Regions from separate parts of the Homo sapiens genome. Here regions 1, 2 and 3 are each linked to region 4. The links are contacts of gene promoters, found by promoter capture Hi-C in blood cells and fetal thymus (Javierre and others, 2016). All regions are on one chromosome and are shown on one strand. Each heading gives the region's core, a stretch centred on a gene start or on the middle of the fragment in contact. The rest is flanking DNA. Distances are from core to core; before and after follow the strand shown. Region 1 overlaps RYR1 (ryanodine receptor 1). Region 2 overlaps RYR1 (ryanodine receptor 1). Region 3 holds the start of IFNL2 (interferon lambda 2). Region 4 holds the start of FBXO17 (F-box protein 17).

The links. Contacts are between HindIII fragments. The CHiCAGO score rates a contact against its expected background, and 5 or more counts as called.
Region 1: a contact is called between a fragment that was not itself captured here and the fragment with the promoter of FBXO17 in region 4, in 1 of 17 cell types (naive B cells). The highest score is 5.7, in naive B cells.
Region 2: a contact is called between a fragment that was not itself captured here and the fragment with the promoter of FBXO17 in region 4, in 1 of 17 cell types (erythroblasts). The highest score is 6.1, in erythroblasts.
Region 3: a contact is called between the fragment with the promoter of IFNL2 here and the fragment with the promoter of FBXO17 in region 4, in 9 of 17 cell types (erythroblasts, M0 macrophages, activated CD4 T cells and 6 more). The highest score is 9.0, in erythroblasts.

Annotation. Positions count from the first base shown.
Region 1 is chr19:38,532,032-38,534,750 of GRCh38, reverse strand. RYR1 (ryanodine receptor 1) reads right to left here. Exons shown (of 106, transcript NM_000540.3): 77 at 2,210-2,261; 78 at 2,015-2,080; 79 at 1-31. Among named protein-coding and RNA genes, the nearest start is that of MAP4K1-AS1, 63 kb to the left of the region's middle. The HindIII fragment of the contact is 7,271 bases long and covers 1-2,719 here.
Region 2 is chr19:38,477,626-38,480,325 of GRCh38, reverse strand. It overlaps RYR1 (ryanodine receptor 1), which reads right to left. Exons shown (of 106, transcript NM_000540.3): 30 at 2,456-2,616; 31 at 1,726-1,891. Among named protein-coding and RNA genes, the nearest start is that of RYR1, 45 kb to the right of the region's middle. RefSeq lists a silencer at 1,286-1,629. The HindIII fragment of the contact is 1,999 bases long and covers 305-2,303 here.
Region 3 is chr19:39,266,954-39,269,861 of GRCh38, reverse strand. It overlaps IFNL2 (interferon lambda 2), which reads right to left and starts at 1,466. Exons shown (of 6, transcript NM_172138.2): 1 at 1,284-1,466; 2 at 1,004-1,185; 3 at 633-710; 4 at 225-374; 5 at 41-124. The coding sequence starts at 1,293. The HindIII fragment of the contact is 23,103 bases long and covers 1-2,908 here.
Region 4 is chr19:38,974,229-38,977,003 of GRCh38, reverse strand. FBXO17 (F-box protein 17) reads left to right here and starts at 1,262. Exons shown (of 6, transcript NM_024907.7): 1 at 1,262-1,418. The HindIII fragment of the contact is 5,979 bases long and covers 1-1,383 here.

The sequences.
Region 1 (2,719 bases), core at 135-2,634, 440 kb after region 4:
ACAAGAGCCTCTGCTTCTCCATCTGTTTCTCCTGGGAAGGGAGGCAGACACATGAAGGCAAGTCCAGGCTTTCCAGCCCAGCCTTTCCCCCTCACATTCTCACTTCTGCCCTCCCTGTTCCAGCCACATCCACAACTCACTCCTTCAACCATGAGCTCCCTCCATCCCCTGGGGCTCACACCCTCGATGTATCTCCTGTACCTAGCACGGGGCTAGGCATTAGGCAAGATCTACATAAATCAGAGCTGGGCATGCAGCAGTCTTAACCTGGGCCCATGGGCCTCCAGGCCATCTGTGAACTTGGATGATGAAAAGTTACATTTTTATGTTTTCCGCCCTCTAACAGAAATGAAGCATTTCCTTCCTATATGGATGAAGCCATAAATCACAGCGATATTAGCAGAACCTGTGGCTTTGTCACCAATAAAAATCACAGATGTGGCTGGGCAAGGTGGCTCACATCTGTAATCCCAGCACTTTGGGAGGCCGAGGCAGGGAGATCACGAGGTCAAGAGGTCAAGACTATCCTGGCTAACACAGTGAAACCCCGCCTCTACTAAAAATACAAAAAATTAGCCAGGCGTGGTGGCATGAGCCTGTAGTCCTAGCTACTTGGGAGGCTGAGGCAGGAGAATTGCTTGAACCCGGGAGGTGGAGGTTGCAGTGAGCTGAGATCACGCCACTGCACTCCATCCAGCCTGGGCGACACAGCGAGACTCTGTCTCAAAAAAAAAAAAAAAAAAAATTACAGATGGTTCCATATCACATTATTATTGCTGTATATTCCATATCACATTATTGTTGCAGAATTAGAACCATTTCCTATTCAAATTCTGCTCTTTTGGTCCAGGAAGAGAGACTCACTCACAATGGCTCAAAGATGTCTTTAAATATCAGTTATGTTCATCACTACTTCTCAATTATAGTAGCTGTTGGATCTACTGCTAGATCTTTTTTTTTTTTTTTTGAGATGGAGTCTCGCCCAGGCTGGAGTGCAATGGCGTGATCTCGGCTCACTGCAACTTCCACCTCGCGGGTTCAAGCGATTCTCCTGCCTCAACCTCCTGAGTAGCTGGGATTACAGGTGCCTGCCACCATGCCCAGCTCATTTTTGTATTTTTAGTAGAGATGGGGTTTCACCATGTTGGCCAGGCTGGTCTTGAACTCCTGGCCTCAGGTGATCCACCCGCCTTGGCCTCCCAAAGTGCTGGAATTACAAGTGTGAGCCACTGCGCCCAGCCTTAGATCTTATTTGATAGATTAACAATGTACAAGTATTACTGGATCACAAATTCATTTTTAAAATATTTTGATAGCTATTCAATACTTGTTTCCTCTGCTATGAATTCATTTTATACATTTAAAAACATGATCCTGAGAAAGTCTTCACCAGATGCCAGAAGGGACTCTGGCACAGAAACAGTGAAGAAAACTATGAAGTAAATGCTTGCTAACTGTCTCAATGAATGAATGGATCGGTGAATTGCATGTTTACTAGCTCTTTCTTGCTGCCTGGCCTTGGCATATACTATTCTCCCTACGTAGAACATTTTTCTCTTTTTCTTCAACTGGCAGGCTCCTTTTATCCTTCTGCTCAGAAGTCCCCTCCTCCGAGAAGCCCTCCCTGATACATTTTCCTGCAGGCTGGGTCAGGCACCTTGTTTGGGCTGCTTTATCCCCCTGAGGTTCCCCCATCTTGGCCCTGACCCCTCTGCCTGTATCCCCATCATCCCAACCCTGACCCCTCTGCCTGAGCCTCCTCAATCCCAGCCCTGACCCCTCTGCCTGAGCCTCCCCAATTCCAGCCCTGACCCCTCTGCCTGAGCTTCCCCCATGACCATGGTGTACACTCCGTGGTGTTAGTTTGGCGGGTGTATCTGTCTCCCCAGTGGACTGACTTGGTCACTGCTGTGTCCCCAGAGCTTTGCTCTGTGAACACATGCTGAATGAATGGGAGATGACTGCAGTCAGGGTCCCCCATCCCTTCCCTCCAGGACCTCCTGAGCCCACCTACCTCAAAGGAGACCTCAACCTCCTCTTCAGCTTCACCGTTCTCCCCTCCCTCCTCCAGGTGGCAGCTCTGGGGAGGGGGCATCAGTTAAGGGATGAACAAAGCAGACCCCTCCATCCCGCCCCAGCCCTTTTTGTGGACAAGCACTGCAGGTGGGGAGAGGGAAATCTGCCCCAGAAGAGGGGGGTAGGGCCTCACCTTTGCCATGATATCAGCATAGGCCATGTACAGGTAATCCTCATCCAGTTTGCTGGGGAAGTAAGCAGGGGAGTGGTCAGGACCCGGTGGAGAGGACCCCCATCTTATAAGAGCTTCTGGGCAGGGTGCGGTGGCTCATGCCTGTAATCCCAACACTCTGGGAGGCTGAGGCAGGCAGATCACTTGAGATCAGGAGTCTGAAACCAACCTAGCCAACATGGTGAAACCCCGTCTCTACTAAAAGTACAAAAAATTAGCCGGGTGTGATGGTGCTTGCCTGTAATCCCAGCTACTCGGGAGGCTGAGGCAGGAGAATTGCTTGAACCCGGGAGGCAGAGGTTGCAGTGAGCTGACATTGCGCCACCGTACTCCAGCCTGGGTGACAGAGCAAGACTCCATCTCAAAAAAAAAAAAAAAAAGAGCTTCTGGTTTTCTTTGGAGGGCCAACCCTCCCCATGTTCAGGCTGTGTGACTCAGGTGGCTGGAGTGGCCATTGCCAGGGTGGCTTGT
Region 2 (2,700 bases), core at 55-2,554, 500 kb after region 4:
CTAAAACTAAAAAAAATTAGCCAGGCATGGTGGTGCATACCTGTAGTCCCAGCTACTCAGGAGGCTGAGGTGGGAGGATCACTTGAACCTGGGAGGCAGAGGTTGCAATGAGTCGAGATTGCGCCACTGCACTCCAGCCTGGGTGACAGAGGGAGACCCTCTCTCAAAAAACAAACAGACAAAAAAGATGAAACAAGATTGGCTGTGAGTGGGTGACAGTTGAAGCTGTGTGACAGGGGCATGGCAGTTCATTATACTATTCCATTCTTGTATACGTTTTTAATTCTCCATTTAACATAAAGCTTTAGCCAGGAGCAGTGGCTCACGCCTGCAATCCCAGCACTTTGGGAGGCTGAGGCAGAAGGATTGCTTGAGACCAGGAGTTTGAGACCAGCCTGGGCAACATAGTGAGACCCCGTCTGCACAATAAATACAAAAAAAATTAGCTGGGCATGGTGGCACGTGCCTGTGTTCTCAACTATTCAAGAGGCTGAAGTGGGAGGATCGCTTGAGTCCAGGAAGGTTGTGGCTGCAGTGAGCTGTGATCTCACCATGGCACTCCAGCCTGGGTAACAGAGCGAAACCCTGTCTCAAAAAATAAAAATAAAAAATAAGCCAGGCACAGTGACTCAAGCCTGTAATCCCAGCATTTTGGGAGGCCAAGGTGGGGAGATCGCTTGAGCCCAGAAGCGAGAGACCAGCCTGGACAATATGAGGAAAACCCATCTCTACAAACAATACACACAAAAAATCAGCTAGTCAAGGTGGTGCATGCCTATAGTCCCAGCTACTTAGGAAGCTGAGACAGAAGGATTGCTTGAGCCTGGGAAGTTGAGGCTGCAGTCAGCTGTGATCACACCACTGCACTCCAGCCTGGGGGACAGAGTGAGGCCCTGTCTCAAAATAAAGAAAATAAAATGCAATAAAATTTCATAACCAACAATGGATGCCAAAAAATTAAAATAAAGTTGTACAAACCCACCTTAGATTAATGGACAGGTAGGTGAATATGTGATAAAGCCAATATCTACAACATTGATAGTAGATTCCAGGTGGTGGGTACAGGGTGTTATCTACATAGCTCCTTCAATTTTGCTGTATGATTGAAATTTTTCAGAATAAAATGTTGAAAAGGAAAAGGCCACCTTAGGATTCTGGCCCATCCTAGCGTGTTCCCTGGTTGGAGAGAAGTTGGTGACTGGTGTCACCCAGCTCAAGAGGGAACAGAAACCTCTTTCCAAGGTCAAGGCTGGACTCTGGCTGGGTGTGGTGGCTCACGCCTGTAATCCCAGCACTTTGGGAGGCCGAGGTGGGTGGACCACTTGAGGTCAGGAATTTGAGACCAGCCTGGCCAACACAGTGAAACCTCGTCTCTACTAAAAACATAAAACTTAGCCGGCTGTTGTGGTGCTCGCCTGTAATCCCAGCTACTCAGGAGGCTGAGGCAGGAGAATCCCTCTAACCCAGGAGGCGAAGGTTGCAGTGAGCCAAGATCGTCCCATTGCACTCCAGTCTGGGCAACAGAGTGAGATTCTGTATCTCCTCCAGTCTGGGCCTTAGTTTCATGGAAGTTTCAACAAGGTGGTCTCCCAGCGACCTCTTGAGGACAGCCTAGGAGCTGTTTTTGTTCCATCTCTGAGGTCTGGCCTCAGGGGACATCTATAAGAGCTGTCCTGGGATGCTGGGACATGATGCTCTCGCTAAATTGCTGTGGCCTGGACTCACCTGGAAAAAGGTGTTGCTCTCTTTGCCATTGGCTGTAAAGGTCATTAAGCCAGTGGCCAAGTCCACCAGGCACCCAATGACAAGGTCCGTGTGGCTGATCCGGCCCTGCTGCCCGGGACTCACAAAGTCTCCGCCCCACACCATGTAGCAGTTGCTACACTTGAGGCTGCAGGAGACAGAAGCGGTCACTGCACTCCTCATGTGAGTAGCTCTGGACCCTGGACACCCCCTTCCCCAAGCTCCCGGAAACACACAACCTCAGAGTCCCATCCCCAAACACCCACCGCCTGCAGACCTGAGAGCTGAAACCCCTCGCCCCGGACACTGAGCTCTTCGGAGCTGGGATTCCTAGCAGCTGGCGCAGTGGGGAGTCAGGATGGGGGTGGGGGTCTGAAAGGAGGGAAAGCAAGGGAAGCAGGAGGAGAGAGAATGAGATGACAGAGAAGGAGAAGGGTGAGATGAAACAGGATGAGAAGGAAAAGGAGAAAATGGAATAGGAGAAATGCATAAAGAGGAGGAGGAGGAGAAGAAAAATACCAGGGCAGGAAGAGAGGAGGAAAAAGAGGAGGAGGGAAGCTTCCGAGCTGGGTGCCCAGTGCCCCAGAGAATCCTCCCGCTCCAGAAAGTTCCTAGGTCCCACAACCAGGCAGCCACAGAGCTGGTGTCGGGAGCTCTGACTGCCTCCTGCCCTCCCCACCCTGCACCTCCCACCTCCCCCCAGCCCCGGCACCTGCTGTGGACGTTGCCTTGTTCATCCCCCATGGTCACCGTCACGACCCGGACCTTGCTGAGGTCGAAGCTCATGTCGTGCTGATGGTAGTCAGGGGTGACCCAGCCCGCCCACACGCAGCTGGGCTCCTGTCCAGCAAAGACCCTCACGGAGTAATAGTACTGGTGACACAAGGAGGGGAACTAGTGGTCAGTCTGGAAGTCAGGGACTCGGGCTCCCTGGGACTCGAAATTGGTTTCCCTGGA
Region 3 (2,908 bases), core at 217-2,716, 290 kb before region 4:
GCTCCCCAGACCTCAGTCCCTCTCTTCCCGGGTCACTCACCTTTTTTGGGGCCTCCTGGAGCCGGTACAGCCAATGGTGGAGGCGGCCCCGGGTCCTGGGCCCTGCCGTGGGCTGAGGCTGGATCTGTGGGCAGAGGAGGGCGGTGTGTGAGCCGGGGCCTTGGCAAGGGGAAGGACGCTGCTCAGAGCTCACAGACCTGGGTGCCCAGGCCCCAACGACTCACACAGGCCCGGAACTGGGAGAGGATATGGTGCAGGGTGTGAAGGGGCTGGTCCAAGACGTCCACCAGGGCTGGGTCAGTGTCAGCGGTGGCCTCCAGAACCTTCAGCGTCAGGGCCAGCTCAGCCTCCAAAGCCATGGGGCGCTCCCTCACCTGAGGAGAGGTGAGAAAGAGCAGGTGAGGGGGGAGGTGAGGGGAACAGGTTGGGGAGCAGGATAGAGAGGAACAAGTGAAGGTGACAGGCACAGGGGAGAGGGCACAGCCAGTGTGGTCAGGTGGGAGCGGAGGGAAGGGAGAGCAGGTGTGAGGAGAAGAGAGAGAGACAAGGGAGAAAGAGACGGTGAAGGGGCCACTACAGAGCCAGGTGAGTGGGGCTGGGAGAGCAGGGGTGGGCCTGACTCCCCCTCTCACCTGCAGCTGCCTCAGGTCCCAGGTCCTGGGGAAGAGGCGGGAGTGGCACCTGCAGTCCTTCAGCAGAAGCGACTCTTCCTAGACAGCAAAGGCACAGGTTAGCCCCAGCAGGAGGGGTGGAGGTTAGACCATCCTGGTGGGATTGGAGGATGGCTGACAACAGGATAGGGGAGGTTAACTGCTGGGAGGATGGTAGAGGACCCTCTTCTACAGGAAAACATGAGTCAGTCCCTACAGTAGGAGCATGAGATAGCCCACTGCAGGGAGGGTGGAGGCTAGCCCAGTGAAGGAAGCTGGGAGTGGGAAAGCATGGTGACGCTTGGAGTGGGGGTGGAGGCTAGTCCATGGCAGGAGGGCAGGGGGAGACTCACTAAGGCATCTTTGGCCCTCTTAAAGGCCTGCAGCTCCTGTGGAGACAGGGACTTGAACTGGGCTATGTGGCAGCCCCTTGCATCCGGGAGAGCCCCGTGGAGCCTGGCGACAGGAACTGCTCCAGTCACGGTCAGCACTGCGGCCATCAGCACCAGCACTGGCGTGCAGTCCCCAGTCATGTCTGTGTCACAGAGAGAAAGGGAGCTGAGGGGATGGAGAGGCTGCCCACTGAGGGCAGGGGCTGCAGGAGCTGAGCACGGACAGAGATGTGGGACTCACCTAGTTTCATTCCTGATCTCTGGTCTTTGTCAGCAGAAGAAACACTCTGAGGCTGTCACCCAGGGTCTGTTTGGGTCTTGTCTGGAGTCTCTGTTCTTTTCAGTCCCCTCTTCTGGATCTCAGACTGTGTCCTGGCTTTGACTCTTTCTGTCAGTTTTGAGCTCTGTCTGGGATGTAATTCCTGCCTGAGCTCCATGGGGCAGCTTTTATCCCTGACAGAAGGGCAGTCCCAGCTGATGTAGGAAAAGTGAAAACACAGCCTCAGGTAAGACACCGGCCACCAGGGGAGCCCCAGGCTGGGAAAGCCCAGAGCAGGGCAGGGCTAGTGAGCCAGATGAGCAGCTGGAGGGAAAGAGAAACTGATGGAGACTCAGGGGTAACCTACAGGAAGGTATGTTCCCAGGAGGATTCCACCTGCTCTGGTTTTGTTGTTGTTTAAGACAGGGTCTCACTCTGTCACTGGAGTGCAATGGCATGATCACAGCTCACTGCAGCCTCAAACTCCTGGGCTCAAGCCATCCTCCTCACCCAGCCTATTAAAGTGCTGAGATTACAGGCCTGAGCCACCCCTCCTGGCATATATATATATATATATTTTGAGACAGGGTCTTGTTCGGTCACCCAGGCTGGAGTGCAGTGCAAAATCTTGACTAACTGCAACCTCCACCTCCTGGGTTCAAGCGATTCTCTTGCCTTAGCCTCCCAAGTAGCTGAGATTACAGATTTGTGCCACCATTCCCAGCTAATTTTTATGGTTTTAGTAGAGATGACAGTTCACCAATTGGCCAGGCTGGTCTCGAACTCTTGACGTCAAGTGATCTGTCTGTCTTGGCCTCCCAAATTGCTGGGGTTGCAGGCATGAGCCACTGTGCCCAGAGGCCATGATTTCTTTCTTTCTTTCTTTTTTCTTTTTTTTTTGAGATGGAGTCTTGCTCTGTAGCCCAGGCTGGAGTGCAGCAGCGTGATCTCGACTCACTGCAACCTCCACCTCCTTGGTTCAAGGGATTCTTCTGCTTCAGCCTCCCGAGTAGAAAGGACTATAGGCATGCACCACCACGCCCAACTAATTTTTGTATTTTTAGTAGAGACGGGGTTTTGCCATATTGGCCAGGTTGGTCTTGAACTCCTGACCTCGTGATCTGCCTTCTTCGGCCTCCCAAAGTTCTGGGATTATAGGCGTGAGCCACCGCGCCCGGCCAGAGGCATATATGTGTGTGTATATATATATATATATATATATATAGAGAGAGAGAGAGAGAGAGAGAGAGAGAGAGAGCATGAGAGAGAGTGAGTGAGCAAGAGAGATGGAGTCTCGCTCTGTTGCCCAGGCTGGAGTGCAGAGGCACCATCTCAGCTCACTGCAACCTCTGCCTCCTGGGTTCAAGTGATTCTCCTGCCTCAGCCTCTTGAGTAGCTTGGATTACAGGCATGTGCCACCATGCCCAGCTAATTTCTGTATTTTTAGTAGAGACAGGGTTTCACCATGCTGGCCAGGCTAGTCTTGAACTCCTGACCTCATGATCCACCTTCCTCGTCCTCCCAAAGTGCTGGGATTACAGGCATGAGCCTCTGAGCCCAGCCAAGGCCAATATTTCTTAATTGCCCAGGCAAGGAAGGACTCAGGA
Region 4 (2,775 bases), core at 13-2,512:
AAATAAACCCCCCAAAATCCGGAATGCAAAACAAACCTAGGCCTACGCCTTTCACATAAGGAACTGCGTGTGGATCTGTGCTAAAAACTCTACCAATAATACAGTAATTTTACAACCCACAGCAGAAAATGCTTTCAAAGGCGGTTGTTACAAATAATGTAATAGTAGTCAAATTAGCGTTGGCTCTGAGTCCAGCACTGTGCTCCGCGCTGCACACGCAGTCTCACGCCGTCCTCACGATGGCGCTGTGGGGCCTGGCTGAGGTTTCTAGGGGAAGGGGCTTTAGGGAATCCAGGCTCTCTGGCTGTGTGACCCCTCCAAGCTAGCGACTTGGACTACGTGCAACAGACCAGGTATCTCTGGACTTCAGTTTCTCGGGAGAGGCGTCCATGAGGAGGTCATGCATACAAAGCATTTAGCACAGTGGCAGATATGAGCCAGTGGGCCTGGAGAATGATTTACCAGCGTGGGGGAGGCCTGGCTTCCAGAAAACTAGCTCTGGGGTGTCTGAGATCAGTCACCTTGAGGTCCCTGGTGCAATCTAGGGCCATCAGAAGGGACTGCAAAGACCCAAGGGCAGAGGTAAAGGGAGAAAATGGGTCGCGGCCCCAGCCTGACCGAAACTGAACCTCCGGATTAATTCAGTTGTCTATAGCTGGGGGGATGGGGAGGACAGGGGAGTCCTAAGGTGGAAGGGTACAGGTTTGTCATTGCCACAGAGAGTGCGTGTGGTGAAGGGATTTAATTTAAGATCAGCCCCGGGCTTCTGAGAATCTGGCCCTGGGAAGCAACGTAAATACAAGAAAATCCCTGTGGCCAGGGACTTTGATCCAAGTGTTTCGAATCAGGCCCTGGGTCGGGCTCACAGCTAAGCGGTTTACCAACCGTGGACCTGTGCAGGATCCCATGGATGTGAGGGGTGGAGACGGCCGCAAGCAGGAGGCCAGGACCAGAAGGAAACGGAATTTGGGTGGGGGTGGGGAGCTAGGACCAGTCCCCCCGCGGGGGCGTCTTGGGGATGTGGAACTCGCACACCCAGAGGAGGTGGCTCTCCCAGGGGTGGGCCCCGGATCCTAGGGGCGCGGGGCTGGCCCCGCTCCCCGCTGGCCTCGCGGCAACTGGGCCTCCCCCTCGCTGCACGCAGCCCTCCAAGCTCCCCCGCCCGCCCGCCCTCGCTCCCGCTGGGCCCCGCAGCCGGAGGAGGGGCGGCCTCCCGCCCCCGCCCGCTGGATCTCAGAGTCGCCGCCCCCGGCGCCGGGCTGCAGCCGCCACGCCCCGGGAGAGGACCGACCGCCCAGACCGCCGGTCCCGGGGCCCCCTGGGCCACGCCGATCACGGGGAGCCCCTCGACTGCCTCCCAGAACAAAGTGGGAAAGGGAAGCTTAGCCCGCCGCTGCCGCCTCCGAGCAGCCCGCCAGGTGAGCGCCGGGACAGGTAGGGGACCCAGGTCGGGACCCAAGCGTCAGTCCCGTTCTCGCCCACAGCTGGGGCGCCCCGGGAAGGATTCCCGCGCCAGGCCCTGCCCGGAGGGGCGGGTCCCTGGGAGTCCCATAACCCGCAGCGTCGCTTTCCCGGGCCCTCCCTCGGCCTGAGGCTCCTTTAAACCCAAAGTTATACAAATGCACGTTAGAAAGCCCTAAATCTGGAAGGGCTTTGCTTTGAACGTGGGTGTTCGAACGCCCAGGCCTCTCCATCCCTGCGCTCGTCCGCGGAGGCCACCATCCAAAACCCCTGCCAAACGCTGCAAACCAACACGTGGGCGCAACAGCCCGGGGAAGGCCAGGCCGCTTTTTACCGTTGCTGGATTTTCTGTCTTCTGGCCGTCAGTCCCTTCGCAGAATCTGTGAATCAGAAGCCTTGGAGGGCGGTTTCTCGATTTAGCAACTTGGGCACATTATGTGTTTCGCTGCGGCCCCAACCCTCAATTTAAATTTTGTTCTGCCAAGTTACTTTTGCAATGTTCAGTGATATGTTCGAAAGCTCTGTATACTGCCTCTTCAACTTTAGACAGCGTCTATTTACTCCATATTTTGAAAGACAAATATTATGGGAGTCTAGTTGTAAAATAAATAATACTTCTTTAAAAATGTTCCAGTAATACACGACACTCAGACACGTAGGACAGGACAGAGCTTTGCATGGAAAACAACACGCCTTTAAACAACAACCTCTCCCTCACCACCGCCCCCAACCCCTGTCGGCCAAATACATTTTTTTGTTAACTACATTACTTTTCAAAAATGGCAAGAAGTAACTCGTGATCGCTGGTGCCTCGTTTTTAACTTTTTCCACTTTTTATTCCTCTGGTATCTATTTCCAAATCTTTACAGCATATTTTTGGATTGTTATTTCTTATTTCATCAACTTTTAGACAACGCGTCCATGGATCCCTTGCTAAAAATAGGAGACAACTTTGATCATCTCCGTGGTTTTCCTCCTCCCTATATAATCACCTCCCTGTATAGTCAGGACATTACTTTCGGCTTCTCTATTGGCTACTTTTCTAACATAAAATAATTTTTTTAACTTGTATTTATTGTTCCATTAAATATACCTAGTATCTGTTGACTCTCTTTTTGTAAGGCTTGGCTAAGGAGCTTCTTTTTAAAAAATATATTTTTAGGCCGGGCGTGCGCGGTGGCTCACGCTTGTAATCCCAGCACTCTGGGAGGCCGAGGCGGGCGGATCACCTGAGGTCAGGAATTCAAGACCAGCCTGGCCAACATGAACCCCGTCTCTACTAAAAGTACAAAAATTAGCCAGGCGTGGTGGTAG